3 separate regions of the Homo sapiens genome follow, and all the other regions are linked to region 2. The links are contacts of gene promoters, found by promoter capture Hi-C in human tissues and cell types (Jung and others, 2019). All regions are on one chromosome and are shown on one strand. Each heading gives the region's core, a stretch centred on a gene start or on the middle of the fragment in contact. The rest is flanking DNA. Distances are from core to core; before and after follow the strand shown. Region 1 holds the start of LOC105370453 (a long non-coding RNA gene). Region 2 holds the start of NKX2-8 (NK2 homeobox 8). Region 3 has its middle 34 kb from the start of PAX9.

The links. The method cuts DNA at HindIII sites, captures the fragments that hold promoters and counts their contacts. A contact is called where the count stands out against the background at its distance.
Region 1: a fragment that was not itself captured here is called in contact with the fragment with the promoter of NKX2-8 in region 2 in 5 of the 25 tissues and cell types used here (H1 embryonic stem cells, adrenal gland, mesendoderm cells and 2 more).
Region 3: a fragment that was not itself captured here is called in contact with the fragment with the promoter of NKX2-8 in region 2 in 1 of the 25 tissues and cell types used here (liver).

Annotation. Positions count from the first base shown.
Region 1 is chr14:36,524,098-36,526,825 of GRCh38, reverse strand. It overlaps LOC105370453 (a long non-coding RNA gene), which reads right to left and starts at 2,137. Exons shown (of 3, transcript XR_001750715.2): 1 at 1,618-2,137. RefSeq lists an enhancer at 1,022-1,960. The HindIII fragment of the contact is 5,941 bases long and covers 1-2,728 here.
Region 2 is chr14:36,581,297-36,584,233 of GRCh38, reverse strand. NKX2-8 (NK2 homeobox 8) reads left to right here and starts at 1,620. Exons shown (of 2, transcript NM_014360.4): 1 at 1,620-2,001; 2 at 2,770-2,937. The coding sequence starts at 1,845. RefSeq lists an enhancer at 2,229-2,937. The HindIII fragment of the contact is 13,278 bases long and covers 1-2,937 here.
Region 3 is chr14:36,626,291-36,629,306 of GRCh38, reverse strand. No RefSeq gene overlaps it. Among named protein-coding and RNA genes, the nearest start is that of PAX9, 34 kb to the left of the region's middle. The HindIII fragment of the contact is 5,003 bases long and covers 1-3,016 here.

The DNA.
Region 1 (2,728 bases), core at 84-2,583, 57 kb after region 2:
AAAATCAAGGAGCTGGACGGGCACGATGGCTCATGCCCGTAATTCCAGCACTTTGGGAGACCGAGCAGGGAGGATTGCTTGAGCCTAGGAGTTTGAGGTGGCAGTGAGCTATGATTACACCGCTATACTCTGGCCTGGGCAACAGAGAGAGACCCTGTCTTGGGGGGAAAAAACAAAACAACAAAAAACAGAAAATAAGGAGCTTACGGTCTGCCTAAAAAGAACACAAACACATGGCAATTAGGAAATCACTCAATTAAGAAATTGCTTATCAATGTAACAGAAAAGTGTAATAGAGATTCATCCATTTATTCTGCACACATATATTGAGCTCCCACTATGTGTCAGGCATTTAGTTGTCAGAAGAGGCAATTGGATTTTTAAAGAGAAGGATATGACTTAGTTGTGGGGCTGGAAAGAATGATTTTTCTGGCTAAGTGAAAAAGAATAGCAGAGTAACATGGGCATATTGGCTGGGATGGGTTTGGGAGGGTGGAGAGGATCTGGTTTTGACCAGAGTCCAAAGAAGGGGGAATAATTTGGGGGAAAGCCTGCCTGAGTGAGTTGGTACCGTAGATTGGAGAGCTGGAAGGCACCCATCGAGTGTAGCTAGTCCCAGAAGTTTTCCTACTCCAATATTTTCTAAAGGTTATGCTCCTACTGCTGCAACACAAGGCAGAACCCCCTTGTGTCAGGCTGTCAAGCTAATAGGGCCACTGCCTCCTCCAGAAAGGACATGCAGAAAGTGCAAGCTACTCCATTGGTCACCAAATATGCCTCCAAATGCCCTCTGACTTGGACAGGACATTCGCATAACAAAATTCCGAAGCAAAGCATAATTAAAAGAGGGTTTTAGGTACAAGAGCAGCTTCCAAGCCCTGATCTACACCTGGGCTCTTTCAAATAGCAGGTGCAAGGAGACTGGGTGATTCAAAGAGTCAATCATAACTTATATTGGCTTTGGGTGGACCGATAGACAGCCTGACGTATGGTCGGGCGGACAGTTAGAATGAGCGAATGCGTGGATGATGTACTACCAGTCTCCGACCACCACCAGTTTTCCCTAGCCGGAAACTAGTAGCAAAGCTTCCCCGAGACCGCTCTAAAGCTGCAGTTCTCCAGACGGCCGCCGGAAGAGGGCGCTGCGGATCGCCTCGGTCTGCAACCTTCAGACCCCAAGTCCTAGGCAGCGAGGGAGAATTCAGCCTCCCTCAAGTCCCAGAAAACATTGGGCCTCGGAGATTCCCCCTCCACCCTTCCCTCACACCCACCCCAATGGCCTGGGGTCGATACTGCGGCCACCGGAAACTGCCTGGGACAAGTGTTGGGGATGTGGGGGAGACGGGCTGTGGTGGGAGGTTGGAGAGGAGGAAAGGAGCGGAGGAGGGAACCCCAGCGCTGCTGGCAAGCCCGCGGGAAACTCGAACACCCAAGGCCCACGGGCTCCCACTGTTGGGACTGAGATTTGTTGGGGAACAGAGGGCAGAAAGAGCTATAGGTTTCGACTACCTAAAGCTGAATGAGGCTGCACAGGTCCTGGGGCGAAAACAGCCGCGCCGCCACAAGGATGCTTCGGGAATCTGTCCTTTAATTATCAGGAGCAGCTGCGAAACTTACCTTAGCGCAGCACGAACCCTAGAGCGCCCCCGAGGGTGTCCCTGCCCCTTCCGACGGGGGCGTCTGGCGGATTCGCGGCGTAGCACGGCAGCGCGGGCCTCACAGGGTCGGCTGACCGCTTCAGGCCCGTGCTCCTACCTCCCGTCTCCGTCTTGGTTTCCTCGCAATTCAAAGGGAGCTGCTGAGCTCCCGCTGTTCTCTGCTTTGTAACCCGCTCCCTCAGGTTCCCTCCTACCCCAGGCCCCTTCCCGCCAGAGGGCGCCCCTGGAGTCGGTGGAGAAGGTAGGGGCTCTAAATACAAAAATTCAAGACGAGTTGAATCTTGGCTTGAACTGCGTGACAGGAAAATAGGCAAGTTTGGAGACCACAGGTGTTAACTTCTAGTGGGGCTTGACCCGACAGAGGAGCAGATTCTTCAACACCAAAGGCCTAAGGGCCGGACTCTCTTCGCGGACTCTGGCCCTCATAGACGCGCCCTCGCCTCCCATACCCTCCGTAGAGCATGCCTGTGAGGGAAAGGGAGAAGCAGAAGCCGCGCTCGGATGACTTGGCGCCCCACCCCCCAGCCTGCCCACAGGCCACGAATTGAGAAAAGCTTTCCCAAAAGGAAAGTCCTCTCAAAGGCCCTAGACGGTCAAATCGGGAAAGGGAGCAGTAGAGGGATCCTTCCTCCCGCTGCGTCTGTGAAAGCCGCCTGTCTGCACGCCCCGGGCTCCCGCGGTCCCTCCCGAGGATTTCGGTTCTGGTGCCTGAGAAAGCAGCGCAGAGGGGGCCCTGCGAGACCCCTCCAGAGAAATCATCCCCCGGAGGCATTCCTCGGATCTTGGGGTTGCGGAGCAGCGCCCCCCAGCGCCCAGTTACACTCCTGCCTTCCGCTCCCTGCGCCTGGTTGCCTCGATGGCACTCGCGAGCCCAGCTCAGCCCGGCTTAGAAGCCTGTGCCTAGCTGTGGGAGACTGCGGGAGCAACTGAGGGGCCCAAGTGTTTCTTGTTGAAGGTCAGAGGCCTAGAGTCACAGTTTCTCTAAATCCAAAATACAGAATCAGAAGGAATAACTCCTTCTATTAGCGACTTTTGTGATCTACAAACTCAGGCACATGATCTCATCCTGA
Region 2 (2,937 bases), core at 371-2,870:
ATTTATCCCGGCGCGTTAAAGCGCATTGTGAGCAGACGTCAATCATGCATTATTCCGGACTGAACAAATGCAAAATCTTGACTGGAACAAATGCTTCCAACAGGTCCGGGGCGTCGAGCTCCATTTCCCCTTTGTCCGCGGCCTAGCAGTTGGCCTGTATTGGGGTTGCCTCCGCCCGACCACCCAGCGCGCGGTGCAGCTCCGGGCACCTCGGGCACGCTTGATAGGGAGGCTGCTGGGGAGGGTGCGCGGGGCTTGACAGGGCCGCCGCCGCCGCATCCGAGCCAGGTTCGAGTTCAGCCCGGGAGGAGCCAGGACTTCTGGTGCAGCCACCCAAGTACAGAGCCCTTCGCTACAATTTAGCAACTAAATATCCAAACTACTAGCTTCAGTAGGAGAGGCCTCTGAGAGGGCGTTCCTCTGTAGATTGAAGCGCGGCCAGAGCTAGGCCATGGCCCAACAAAATGTATCCACGGCGGCCTGTTCCCTGCGCCTCCTACATTGATCATTTTCTAGGGTGGAACTGTGGAAACTAGAAGATCCCAGAGAAACCCATGGCCGGTGGTATTTTCTGCCGGGTAGGCCCTGTCCTAATTCTCCCGATCGGTCCATTCCCGGACCAAGGCGGGCAGCCTCGTCAGGGTCTGCCATGCTGCGAGCGGGGAGCGTAGGCCATGGGCAGGCTCCTGGGCAAAGACCAAAGCCCAGGCAGTGAGAGTGCCGTTGAGGCTATGGGGCCAAGGCGCACAGGCGGCACCAGTTCATCTGGCGACTCCAAGGAGGCCTCAAAGCCCTCACAGGATGCCCTGAGAAGCGCCCCCGCCCAGGGGCTCTAAAGCGGGCCTGGACCCAAATTTGTGGAGCTCGGCCTCCGAGCTCCGAGATCGGCAGCGGCCGGGCGAAGCTGGGCCAAAGAGACAGGCACTGTAGACCTAAGTAGCTTGGCTACAAGCCTCTTCTGTTTTGCCGGCCTGTGGAGACGTGGAGCTGGGGCTCCGAATGTTGTCCCAGCCCTTCCTCAGCACCTCTGAGGCTGTTAGGGGGATGTATGGTGTGATCCGAGGCTCCCAGCGGCCGTTGAAACCCCTGGGCCAATGCTGGCAGGGCCAGGCTAATCTTTACGCCCTCCTGAAACTTGTCATCCTGAATCTTAGAGGGGCCCAACCAAAAAGAGAAAGGGAGCGCGCCAGAGTTTAACGCCGCTTTGTAAATCACTTTCTGGATAATTGCGGGAAACTACCACTCCAGCAAACAAGCTCGAAGAATAAAGCAAACAGGGAATAAATTCCTGGGTGCTAATAAACCCACCCCTGCCACCCCCACCCTTCCCGGCGCTCCCGCGGGGCCTGGCCTCAAGTCAGCCCAGGAGGAGGAGGAGGAAGCTGGGGCTGGGTCAGGCGGGTGGTGGCCACCGCTCGCCACCCAAGATGTTATTCACTGGTAACAATCCCCATTATCTGTCCCCACTTTGGGCTAATCAGACAGAATCGCTAATGCCAAATGCTGCTTCCTGCAGCCTCTGGGAGGTAACTGGGCGCCAAGGGGCGGGGTGCGGGGCGGGGTGCGGGGCGGGGCGGGGGCGGAGGTGGCACCTTCCGGGCTCGCCCCGGCTCTGGTCCAGTGCTCATTCAGGTACTTAACACCCTGGAGACCCGGACCTCGGCTTTCAAAGCGGCCTGGGTGGGAAGAGCTGTTTATATAAACAGAGATTCCGCTGTAAATGCGCTAATATCCCGGCTGCCAGCGCATGGCGAGCGCCTCCCACGCCCATCCGTAGGAGCGGCGTCCCGGCCGCCCCTCCGTTCCCAGCCTGCCCTGCCCCCGCCTCCTTCCCCTCCTCGGCCATGGCCACCTCTGGACGCCTGAGCTTCACCGTGCGCAGCCTTCTAGATTTACCCGAGCAGGACGCGCAACACCTGCCGAGGCGGGAGCCAGAACCACGCGCCCCCCAGCCCGACCCCTGCGCCGCCTGGCTGGATTCGGAGCGCGGCCACTACCCTTGTAAGTGCGTGGTGGATTGCGGTGCGGGGTGGGAGGTAGGAGGCGTGGGGCAGCAGAATCAAGGGCCCAGCCCACGAGGGGCCGGAAAGCCGAAATCCCAGCCCAGAGTCTAGATTTCCTCAGTCTTGGAAACGGGAGCCCTGTCCTCGAACCCCTAACGCATTCATCCCGGTCGGCACATCCTAAGAGCAGATCCCTGCCTGGCACTGGTGCTCCGAGATTTGGGGTTTCTGTGTCTGACGATTTCTAGAGGTCGGAATAATTGAAATTTAAAACGCGCCGCCACCTGCCGCCCCCACCCCACCCCCCGCCCCCTCTCCATGCCTGAAAACACGGCCACGATCTCCAGGCCTCCGTCTGGGATGGCCAGTGTTGGCGAGTTTACCCCCACCCCGTTCCCACTCAGGGCTCCGCAAACCTCGGCACACTGCAGTGCAGTCGACCTGGAGGAGGCCGGCGCTGGTGACCCAGCTTGTGATAAACTGGTCGGCCAGCGCAACTACCGGTGCGGACATGTTAAGAGGGCCCCGGGGTGGGTTTTTTCGGGGCACGATCTCAGGCCCGCTGATGACCGCTGTGGTATGAATGAGGTCACCGCATTCGGAGAGGTGGATGTCCAGATGTGGACTCAGGAAATGGCCTCATCCCGAAAGTCTCGGGCTAGTGGGCGTGCCCTCTGGCCAGTGCCTCCACGCCCGCGCCAGAAGGGCAGCAGGCCCTCGTAGGGTCCGGCGTCTCACCCACCCGTGTCTCCTTTGCTGTCCCTAGCCTCGGACGAGAGCAGCCTGGAGACCAGCCCGCCAGACTCGTCGCAGCGGCCGTCCGCTAGGCCCGCGTCTCCGGGCTCGGACGCCGAGAAAAGGAAGAAGCGGCGGGTGCTATTCTCCAAGGCGCAGACGCTGGAGTTGGAGCGGCGCTTCCGGCAGCAGCGGTACC
Region 3 (3,016 bases), core at 187-2,686, 45 kb before region 2:
TCTCGAACTCCTGACCTCGTGATCCACCCATCTCAGCCTCCCAAAGTGCTGGGATTACAGGCATGAGCCACCGCGCCCAGCCCCTATGAATTCCTCTTTTGAAAGTCTTCTTGATTTTATTCTTCCTCAGATTTTAGTGCTATGATTAAATAACAATATTCTTTTAGTACTGATTTCTTTTCTTCTTTTAGCCTTATTTTCTTCCTCTCCCCTTCTATCTTCTTTCCTTCCCTCTTTTCTTGAACTCTGTGAGAAGCTCTGACACAGCTCAGCATGCAGAGGATGAGAACACTGGCTCCCATGTCACTGCTGAGCCCACATACTCTACCATTGTGGGTTCCAGCTCTGTTCAGCTAGTCTCATTTCTGTGATAATTCTGATTTGAGTATGGACAGTGATCCCTTTTCAGCTTTGTAGCTCTTCAGGCAGAATGATCCCTCTGGCCACTTTATCTGCTGTCCAAGGAACAACACTCTTCATGTTTGCACTTGGCGTGGGACAGGCCATTGAGGATGGAGCTGGAAGAAAGAGTTACTCCTGTCTTTGGTGACTGGAGCTCTAACAGGGAGCTATCGTCATATAATAGATCCCAAGATAACAGGAGCTCAGATACTTATGGGAGAATTGAGGCTGGGTTATATCCAGCTTTGATTTTGCTCTTCAAATTGAAATTGATCCAAGCTGAGGAAACCAAGGAGTGATAGAGGGAAGAAAAAAGAAGAAGAGGGAGAGAGAAAAAAGGAGGAGGAGAACACATGTGCATGTTCAAAACCCTAATAGGATTGGGTGAGAGCCATTGAATACCTGGTCCACTGCAATTGTAAAGTCTGCTTTCACCATCAGGAGTGGGTTTAGCATCTGGAAGTGATTTCATTCTGTGATTACCTTTGGACTGCAATGCTTGTTGGTTCTTTACTAACAAGCAAGCACAGACCCAGGGCAAGCCTTTCATGCTAACAAGCAAACAAGCCATCAGGCTGCAGATTTCAAAACCAGAGGCAGGAGGCGGATGTGAAGTGGGTCAAAATCCTGTTGCTTCCCAGGGGAAAAAAAAGTTGGGAGAGAGAAAAAGAAGTGGCTTTGCCCTCCTAAGCCCTTTTTCAAAGCACATGGAAAGTCAGCAATTATTCCATAGATCATATATCTGCCCATGTATTTCAAAACTTTTGGAATGCAACTAACATTGCCTCAGGCAAGTAGTAAGAGACATTCAGCTCTGTTTAACTCCACAATATAACATTGGGGAGCAACGTGTCTGTGGGCTGTCTTCCCTCTAAAACACTTGGACGCTCCAACCCTAGTAAGAAGATCTGAGACCATATTCCCCTTCTCTGTGCAGATTCCCTCAAATTTGCCAAACGTGCCCAAGTAGCCCTTGGTTATTCACATTCACAGAATGTCCCTTTAAAATGTGTGTGATGATTAAAGCAACGAAATGTGAAAGATCAACTTTGCATTTCCCAATCTGTAATGTTTTGTTCCATGCAAACTTTCTCAATAACCTGTTCTATTAAAGATTTTGAGAAGCCTTATTTTGATGGAAGCCAATTACCAGCGTTAGGCCTCCAAAGACTGATTATAATTTACATATATTGGTGCCATAAAAAGCTGTCCATAAGTTTTTAGCATTGACCAGCTTTTAGAAATCCTAAAAGGAGGCAAGCCAGGTTTTAAGTGCAGAAGTCTGGAAGGGCAATACATTAGATTAAAGAGTAGCAGTGAGTAATAATGATAATGATAGGCACCAAGATTTCCTTAGTACCTAGAATGTGCCAGGCACTCTGCTAGGCCCTTGTATATGTAATCACTGTTATTTAATCCCACCACAAACCCAGTGATATGAATTCTATTATTACCCCTCATTTACAGATGAGGCAATGGAGACGTAAGGAAGTTTCTTGCCCAAAGTCCCACAACTTAGAAAAGGCACAACCAAAACTGAAACCCACAGGTACCAGGACATTATGGAGAAAATATTCTGTTTTTGTGTTCTAGGCTCACTCTTCTCGATAAGCTACAATGGGACTCAACTTTCCCTAGGATTTGTATATAAGGTGTATGTCCACGGTACATGCGTGTAAGTACATCAGGATTTAACTTTTGGAGGAAGATGGTAGCTATCAGAAATTATGTGTACTCCCAGCTTCTTCAAAGAGATGAGCCAGAGTTATGTTCAGAGTGAGATGACCATTTCATTGCTGCTTGTGCCCCTTGTGGGCACTGAATAGCAAGGCTGGATTAAAACTGCCAATGGTCCTCACCTCCGGGCATACAAGCTTTGTGACATCCCTTCCCATTGAATGTGGGATGGACAAAGGGACTTGCTTCTAATTAATATAATAGGGCAAAATCAGTGAGATGTCACTATAGAGATTGGGTTACAAAAAGACACGCTTTCTCACGGGTTTGTTCTGAAGGAAGGCAGCCGCATATTGTGAGCTGCCCTTTGGAGAAGTCCACGTGGCAAGGAGTGATGTCTCCAGTCCACAGCCAGGGAGGATGTGAGACCTGGCAACAGACAGGAGAGCCAGTTTGGAAGTGGATCTTCCCCGGGTTGAGCATTGAGATGACTGCAGCCTTGTGAGAGATCTTAAGTGGGACATCCAGCTAAGCTGTGCTAGGACTCCTGATAATGAGAAACCTAAGATAGTAACTTTTCTTTTTCTAAACCACTAAGATTCAGGGTAGTCTTTTACACAACATAGATAACTAATCCACTTCTGTAGTGTGAAGGCAAGAGATACAGCCTACCCTCTAGGAGGAACCACTAGGATAGCTGACTGAGAACCCTGGTTCAAGAAGTAGGGTAAGTGTCTTCTTCTGGCTGTTTCCTGTCACTAGAACACCAGCATTGCTGGAGCAAGCTCGGGTTGCAGCCTCAAGAGAAGTCCGCTCTATCTTTGCTAATTTACATTGTGATGAATTAGGCTGAGTGGCCCAGGGGAAAGTGAAAGTGAGTTAAACAAATTTGTCTCTCTTGAAAAAGGAAGCAGGACTAAGGCAGAGACATTCATTC